3 separate regions of the Homo sapiens genome follow, and all the other regions are linked to region 2. The links are contacts of gene promoters, found by promoter capture Hi-C in human tissues and cell types (Jung and others, 2019). All regions are on one chromosome and are shown on one strand. Each heading gives the region's core, a stretch centred on a gene start or on the middle of the fragment in contact. The rest is flanking DNA. Distances are from core to core; before and after follow the strand shown.

Evidence for each region. The method cuts DNA at HindIII sites, captures the fragments that hold promoters and counts their contacts. A contact is called where the count stands out against the background at its distance.
Region 1: a fragment that was not itself captured here is called in contact with the fragment with the promoter of SPATA8 in region 2 in 1 of the 25 tissues and cell types used here (hippocampus).
Region 3: a fragment that was not itself captured here is called in contact with the fragment with the promoter of SPATA8 in region 2 in 3 of the 25 tissues and cell types used here (H1 embryonic stem cells, adrenal gland and heart right ventricle).

What each region holds. Positions count from the first base shown.
Region 1 is chr15:96,817,954-96,820,653 of GRCh38, forward strand. No RefSeq gene overlaps it. Among named protein-coding and RNA genes, the nearest start is that of SPATA8, 36 kb to the left of the region's middle. The HindIII fragment of the contact is 4,527 bases long and covers 1-2,700 here.
Region 2 is chr15:96,782,141-96,784,918 of GRCh38, forward strand. It overlaps SPATA8 (spermatogenesis associated 8), which reads left to right and starts at 1,295. Exons shown (of 3, transcript NR_158223.1): 1 at 1,295-1,449; 2 at 2,013-2,119. It overlaps SPATA8-AS1 (SPATA8 antisense RNA 1), which reads right to left and starts at 1,197. Exons shown (of 4, transcript NR_102753.1): 1 at 1,036-1,197. The HindIII fragment of the contact is 9,916 bases long and covers 1-2,778 here.
Region 3 is chr15:96,746,137-96,748,900 of GRCh38, forward strand. No RefSeq gene overlaps it. Among named protein-coding and RNA genes, the nearest start is that of SPATA8-AS1, 36 kb to the right of the region's middle. The HindIII fragment of the contact is 4,057 bases long and covers 1-2,764 here.

The DNA of each region.
Region 1 (2,700 bases), core at 4-2,503, 36 kb after region 2:
TGTAATTTTAGTCTTCAGTTAATTTTACTCAGAAGCCCTCCTTACATCTCATTGTTATTTTATCATTTAAGTGTTGAGCTCCAGTTTAATTGAATTTATATTATTGTTGTTTTTCTATTGCATCAAACAGTAGTAGAAAATTGTCTACTGTGCATTTTGTCAACTGTTTTATAGACTGGGTTCTACATTTGCCTCCTACGTGGAAGTTTCCATTTTCTTCTCTCTCTTTTTTTCAGTAGAATGCGTGCATATTTCCATGTCATTTATTTTTATCATGTTGGTAGAATGAGGCTCTCTCTGGATTTCTACTTGCTCTGATATAGCATGGGTGAATACCCTTGGACTCACTTCTAATCTTCTCTGATTCATGTTTATTTTCTCTGTGCTAAGTTTTCCATAGACTAATCGAGGATAGGTTCAGGGAGAAGGAAAAGCCACGTCCCTTAAGTAAAGCTGAAAGCTGGGGCTTTGCTTTCAGAATTAGGCTCTGTATTCCTTTCTGAATTTTTTTGACTTTCTGGTACCAGGGTTATTGCAGCTAGCAAGTGGGGCTGGGATATAATTGGATATAATTCAGATCACTTCATCAGGGAAGTGTGGAGCTCTGAGCCTATGGGTTTTTCAGAGTTAGTCCCAGTTGTTTACTTGCTTAATTTCACTCCAGGGAACTGTTTCCTGTTTTCATCCCTTCCAAGGATCTTTTTCCCCTTTTCAGGTAAATGAAATCGACAGGGAAAGACATACCCACAGTCTACAGTCTCTTCTGTTTTAGCTAAAGTACAAAATTGCAAAAGTATACAATACAATATTTTGGTAGCATTTCTGGGAGCCAAATTGATAGGCACCACAGCCATCTTTCTCAAATTGCACTAGAAACTTCTACCTCTTCTCATCACTTCACCTTTTGAGTTTTTGATAGGAGTACATTTTCCTCTCCTGGTATAGTTGCTTTTGGTAGCTACACAATCATTATTATTATTACTATGTAGGTATCAGGAGAGAAAGGCCGTCATTCTTCACCATGTTGCTATCTGTTCTTAGAAATTCTGTCTCTGCCTCTACTCCATGGAAAGGAAATTTATCTTGTTGGAGGGCGTGTTTCAACACGTCTGAGAGTTGGAGGAAATGGAACCACTTGCGATTACTGTAAAATGGTTTCTTGATTACTAATTTGCAGATACCACACAGATGGGCAGATAAAACTGAAGAATAAAGTAATTTATTGACTTATCTGGTGAGGTTACCTGAATAGGCTATATCCTGGGGAAAGACTCAATATCAAGGAAATCATAATGGTTTACAGTGGATGAGGATGGGGTGACATGAGTTGAGGCCATATGAGGGTCTGGGCCATCAGAAAGGAAATCTGAGGATAATGAAGGGGTAGGAACTTTTATGGATAAGATGGGGATGCCTTCTGAGATCTAAATGTTCCAGGTTGTTCATCTCCCTGTGAAAGAACTTCCAGCTTGGCAAATACTAACATGTGAATTAGGCTGGAGGTCACAATGATTAGGAAGACTGATAGGTAGGTACAAATGCTGCCACATTGGGAGATGTAGCATTAAGTCTCAAAATTCTAGTGTGTTAGTTTGTTCTGCAGATGTTTAGTAAGTCTGGCTGTGGTGGGGATTATACCCCTTTTGTTCTTATTTTCTGACTTGCTTATACAGATGGTCCCCGACTTAAGATGGTTGGACTCAGAATTTTTTGACTTTAAGACGGTTTAAAAGCGATATGTGTTCAGTAGAAACCATACTTCAAATACCCATATAACCATTGTGGCTTTAAATTTCAGTACAGTCTTCAATAAATTACATGATATACTCAATACTTCATTATAAAATAGGCTTTGTATTAAATTATTTTGCCCACCTGTAGGCTAATGTAAGTGTTCTGAGCATGTTTAAGGAAGGCTACGCTAAGCTGTGATGTTTGGTAGGCAAGTTATATTAAATGCTTTTCATTTCTTAGTATATTCTCAACCTATGATGGGTTTATCAGTCTGTAACCCCATCATAAGTCAAAGAACATCTGTATCTCTCTTGCTAGATGAGTGTTTGTAAACAGTCTCAAATCCTTATTGGAAAAAAATGAGGTACAAATGAAGACATATTATAATGCCTTAATGATGTTGTTGTTTATCATGTATTTAAAAAAATCAAATCCTCTAACTTGAATGAATCTCAGTGCACTTAGGTGTAATGGGGTGGACGAGACACCATCACCAACACTTCCACTGGCTAGTCATTCTGAATATATATCAACATAGTTGTATTATTTCTGGTGATCCCTTTTAAAAGATGAAATTTGGACTCACTTTGGAAAAAGTTGTTAGCAAAATGTCATTTAATCTTGGTAGTTGGGCAATGAGGCAGAACGTTTTGCATGTTTGCAAAATAAGCTTCATTTTGATGCATTTGGTTGTACTGATTATATTAATTAACTTAACAGCAAGTGTGAAGATTATTTATGATGCATTAAAAATGATTGGACCTTAATTGCTTCCCTGGTAGAACAAGGGACTTGAATTTCAGGGTGAGATTTGTAAAAAATTTAGCTTGCTGGTATGCAAATTCAAATTTTAGAATTGGTCCTTTGAAAACAAATGAAATCCCATAATGGGAAATAATTATGCATAATATTTCCCTCAGAAAGCAGAATTCAGATGTTTTATCTAAACAAGATTTTTTTTTCAGT
Region 2 (2,778 bases), core at 45-2,544:
GGGAGCCATTTCTGAGTCTCCCTCACACCTGAGCTTCCATGGACAGGAGACCTCGGCTAGAGTCTGAGGAGTCTGGGAAGATCTCAAGCCTGTCCCCTTCCCCTAGGCTACAGTACTGGATGCTCAGCCCTCCACCATTATGGGGGTGTTTCCTGGCCATTCAGCTGATCACTGTTAAGCTATCATTTCTCTCTGGAAAGGATGCCCAGACCCCATCCGTCTACTTCACCTTCCTGGGTTCCATTCCCTTGTTTCTGGGGCAAGGCTTTTGGGAGGGCTGGAGAGAGAGAGGATGAGGGGACAGGAGAAGGACACTTTGGGCTTTCTGTCCTCCTCCTGTCCTGCCTTAGCTGGCGCCCTTCACTCCCTGTCTCCTGCCTCTGACTGGAACGAGAAAATACCTTGCACATCCCAGGTCCACCCAGCCAACCCTGACTGGTCCAGTAAGCTGTTTCTTCTGCATTTCAGCCCTGGTTCCTGATTCTACCTCCCCCAGGTCTCTACCATTCCACTCTCAGCTTCCTCCTCCTTGCCACCCAATTCTTCTTGGCTTCCCATCACTTCCCCTCTCTTTTACCTCTCTGCCCCTGTCTCGCCAAAGGCTCTCTCCTGTCTGTGGTTCTACTTGATCTCCGTAACTTTTTCCTTCCCTCCATTCACCCTGGACATTTTGCCCTCATGATTTCTCCTTTCCTCTTGTGTATTTGTCTCTTGATGACCCATTTTCCTTTCAGAGAAACTGAGGCTCAGATAGGTCAGGGGTGATGGCCTACATGGGACAGCAGGACTTAGTAGACAAGGCCTTGCATCCTTGCGGCCCTGCTTTCTGTCTCATCCCTCTTCCCTTTTGTCTTGGTCAGCCGCCCAAAGGCTCCAGCTCTGCATCCAGCAGGGGAGCCCCTTGGGGGGTTCCAGAGTCCACAACTGCACACCCGTCACCTTCACCCACTGCCTTGTTGTAGCAAACCTGCAGCCACCCTGTATATTGTATATGTATATTTATCTATTTGTATATAGATATACAATTTCAAGAACCTACTAAAGGAGGAAGCCTCACTGCTATGCAGCCTGACAGGTTATCAAGTGGGCCTCTTTGAATCCCTTTTTGCTTCTAGGAGAGTTGGGAACCATGAGGTGCCCCCCTGCAGACCCCAGAGCTGCTGCCTTCCCCAGGTGTGCAGGAGGTTTGTAGGAGACGGGGCCCCTTGGCTGCCCAAGCTGCCACCCCTCCCCCACCCGCCCAGTGGCAGTTGCGTCCGTTGGGGCTTCTGGGGCAGCCCACAGGGTTCCGAGCATGTGCTGGCAGTTGCTCTTTGGAGCACCCACTTCACTTCTCCCATGTAGTTCCTGAGTGCAGGACTCTCCTGAAGAAGGGGCGTCTAAAAGGCCAGCCCATGCATCTTGTTCAGACCAGGCTGCTCCATCTCCGCTAAGCCCAGGGATCCACTTGTGTGTCTTTCTGGGATAATTGTCTTTAGTGGCAGCCTGGGCCTCGGGGAAGGAAGGGCATGAGGAATGGCCCCGGCTGGGATGTCAGGGGCCCAGGACAACTCCTGTCTCTACCAGGAAATTGCCCCCTCTTTTCAGAGGCTGCCTTGTCCTAGGTATCTGATGTCCTGCCCTTGGCAGTTTTCAACTCCAGATGTAGGTCTGACTCCTATTAGGCTACCATTTCTTTGTGGGAAGACAGGTATGAAATTGCAGCATTCCTAATTCTCTTAATGTGAATTGTCAGAGCCCCTTCAGACCGGTGGCTGGGGCCAGGCATGAGAGGCAGGTGGTAAGGGCAAGAGGAGCAGCCCCTGTGCACTTGGGGAGGCTGGAAGGGTTGGCGAAAGGAGCTGAAAACACCCTAGATTCCCCAAATGGCATGAAGAGATCCCAGCCCTGAGGCACCTCCCACTCAAGCCGGAGATGAGCTTTTCCCAAAATCCAACTCTATGAGGCTCTCACTCAATGTGGGCTCCTGATGCTGAGGGGACATCCTGACACCCCTGTGTTCTCTTCTGCAGAACCTCGTCGCGACATTTCTCAGAAGCCATGACATGTCCCTGCGGCTGGAGGCCTTTCAAGGGTGGCCCAGGAGGCCTCAAGGGCCCGGTGTGGCCTGCAAAGGAAGGTAAGTAGGTGGCAGGGCTGAGTCTGTGCCTCAAAAGCCAACACTCCAGTTTCTTGACTTCCTCCCTTCTCCATTTCCTGAACCTGGATGGGTGCTGCCGGGGATGGTGGGAGGGATGAGACGGAGGACCCCATTCATTTGTTAGGAGATCCAGAGTTCAGCCTCTCCAGTGCCTTGGCTGCCCCCTTCCTCACTCCCAAGTGCTGCTCGTGCATATTTACTCATTGCTCCCTTTTCCTGAGATGGTGCGTATTCTCCTTTAAGAAGTGTAAACCAGACGAGTCTCTTCGGTGATAGCTCAAGGCATAGTCAGCTGCCCACTACTGAGCCTCCTCCCTTCCTTCAGCCTCTGCCCTCTCCAAGCTCACTCTGGCCTTTCTTATCCTAGGTAGGCTCCTGTCCTTTGTCTCTATTTTTGCCTTTGATCACAACTTCTCTCCTGTTGTCCCTTTGGAATGGCAGCATCATTCTGCAGCTTCTCGGTCAGCATGGGTTATGGGTTTGTGCCAACAGCGATGCATGCTGTCCCCAGAGTGGCTGGATGGGCCTTGGACAATCACTCACGTACCCAAATGTGTTCTCCAGATAACCTTTCCTCTGTGTATACGAAGAGAGAACGTTTAGGGAGCACTGTTCTCCTTCTCACCCATTCTCTCTGT
Region 3 (2,764 bases), core at 33-2,532, 36 kb before region 2:
CAACAACAGTAACAAAAACCCATTTCCCTGATGTTTGTTTTTTTAGGCTGGAAATTCGTTCATGAAATTATTTTCTTTATTTTATGTAGAGATTTTATTCTGTTCCATTGGTCTGTATGTCTACAGTTATACCAACACGACACTGTCTTGATGACTGTGGCTTATGGTAAGTTTTGAAATCAGCTAGTGATTTGTTCTTTTTTGAAATCATTTTTGGCTTTCTGGTCATTGCTATTTATTTTAATTTGTAGTACTTGAATAAATCACACTGTTATCATGTGGGGATGATGGGTTAGCAATCTCAGTTGACTATTAGATGAACAGCCTGAGAAGGAGCCTCTAAATTCATGAGTTTGTCCACAAAAGCTGCTACTTTTCAATATTATGCTTTTATTGCATGTATGAATGTGTGTGTACGTTACATGCAAGTATATACTTTTAAGAAATGGAATTCTCTACCTCCCTGCAAATTGGTGGCAGTGCTCAGGATTCTGTGCAGAGGTTGTTTTGTCCCAACCCGGGCTGCTCTCTGTGAGCTGGCCCCCATCACTGCTGGTAGGTAACTATGTGATATATAACTTGCAAGCAGCCCTGCTGTTTGTTACTGGCAATTAATCTCTCTGGTGCCTTTCTTCCATTCAGACTAAGCCTTTATGTTCTAAATCCAGCTATTCTAACGCTCCCCACTTGTGCTGTGTAGAAAAGACTCAGACTGACAGATTATTGCAGGGCAGTTAAGCATGTAATTGCTCAAATGAGTTAAAATCCCTTCAAATATCTGTCTTTGTACCTCATCACACCACTTCACGGACTCAAATATTTGACAATTGATGAAGATAAACTAAAGGGGCCTTCATTAGCTACCAACCACCGTGACAAGCTTCTTTCAGCGAAAGGCTGGTGAATTTTGGAACTTATTATCTACTTAAAAACTGCAGGAAAGCAGAAAAATACTTCAGTGAACTTTAGAATAGAGAAAGCCAGAAGCTTTGCATGGAAGCTGGGGTCAGGAAAAAAAACCCATGGTTTGCTAATCTAAGGCTGCACTTGTTAAAAATGTAGGGAAAGACAGGCAGATGGACTTATCCAATAAAGGAAGGAAAATATTATCATATTCTCATAGGCACCATCATTAATGACCATGTGTTAAATTTAGAGGTAATTACAGAAATGGAGAGAGGGTGGAAGAAGTCCAGGGCTGTGCAGAGGCTGAGCTTAGTGTGGTTGCTGGGCTGCCAGGAGCGATAGCCCCTGCTCTAGGATAAAGTCAGGTGCTGCACCGAGCAAGTGTCTTGAGAAATGCATGGAACTTTGCTCTGGCATAAACCCCAGCAAGTCCTCTGACTTTCAGGGACCTCACTGCTCTATTAAGCTATGCAGACCTTGTGCCAAGGAAAACAGGTGCGAACATGACCAACGGGCATCAGGGAAGAGTAGGGAAGATGCAGATTTGAAGTATGATGGCCTGTGTCTAACTATGGTGAGATGTTGGGCAAATTGTAGCTTTGATTTCCTTATCTATGAAATGTAACTTACTAATTCATGTTGCATGTAATTTTTTTGTGAGGAATAAATGAGAGAAGCATTTGGTACAAATATTGATCATTATTTTATAAAACGGGTGTAGCAAGAATTTTGCTCTATATATTTCATACTTAATGTGAACCTAAAGCTCCATTTCTTATGTAATAGAAAGATAAAAACTCTAAAACAATAAACAAACAAATAGAAGAAAATGTTGAAGTGTTACATTTTCTTTTATGAGACTTTGGTTTCCATTAGCTTAGTGAGCATGGGTTGTCCTGACAGCCGTAATGGACCAAACACCCTCAGCTTCCAAACAGAGACCACGCAACATAGACTTACCCAGGCAGGCCCTTGACTACCTTGGCCCTGACCAGACATTACTTTCCTGTCTGGTTAAATAATGTGACTGGTTAAACAACAATGGTGAGCGGACATTTTTAAATGGGTCCTGAGTTTATCTGGGATCCTAGCGTTTTATTATTGTACATGATGTTGGGTTTTGTTTAGACATAATAACTCTAATTAAACATTTAAGCAAGATGTTCAAAGAAAACGACAACATTAAATCCTTACTAGCTTTAAGAGATGATGCAGTTTGTCTTTTAACCTACCTATCATCTATCTGCGGCCACATATATACACACATACAAACACACATGCATTTACATTAGGGCTGCTCAAATGTTCAGCCATGGTTCTGATATTCTGCCCATATTGACAATTTGGTTTTGTCTTGACCTGGGGCCTTTGGAAAGCTGAATGAATATCTGAGTGGTTACTTTCTGACCTTAGTGTGTAATCAGTGGTCAAATGATCATGTAGACTACTATGATATCGAACAACCATAACAGTGTCAATAATACAAACAAGATATATCTTTTGAACATGCTGCAATATCTTTTAATATTCACTTCTTGTAAGGATAAACATTCTGCATTATTTTGAACAAATGCTTTATTTTTTATTTTGTATTTTGTATGTTGATCTGCTACTGGTCACATATAAGATAGTAAGATATTTTTCCAGCTTTACTGAGGTATAATTAAGAAGTAAAAATTGTACATATTTAACGTATAAACCTGATATTTTGATATACATATACATTGTGAAATGATTACCACAATCAAGCTAATTAACATATCTCCTCATAGTTACAATTTTTTTGTGCATGATGAGACACAAAACACTTAAGATCAACTCTCAGCATATTTCAAGTGTGCAATACAGTATTATTAAC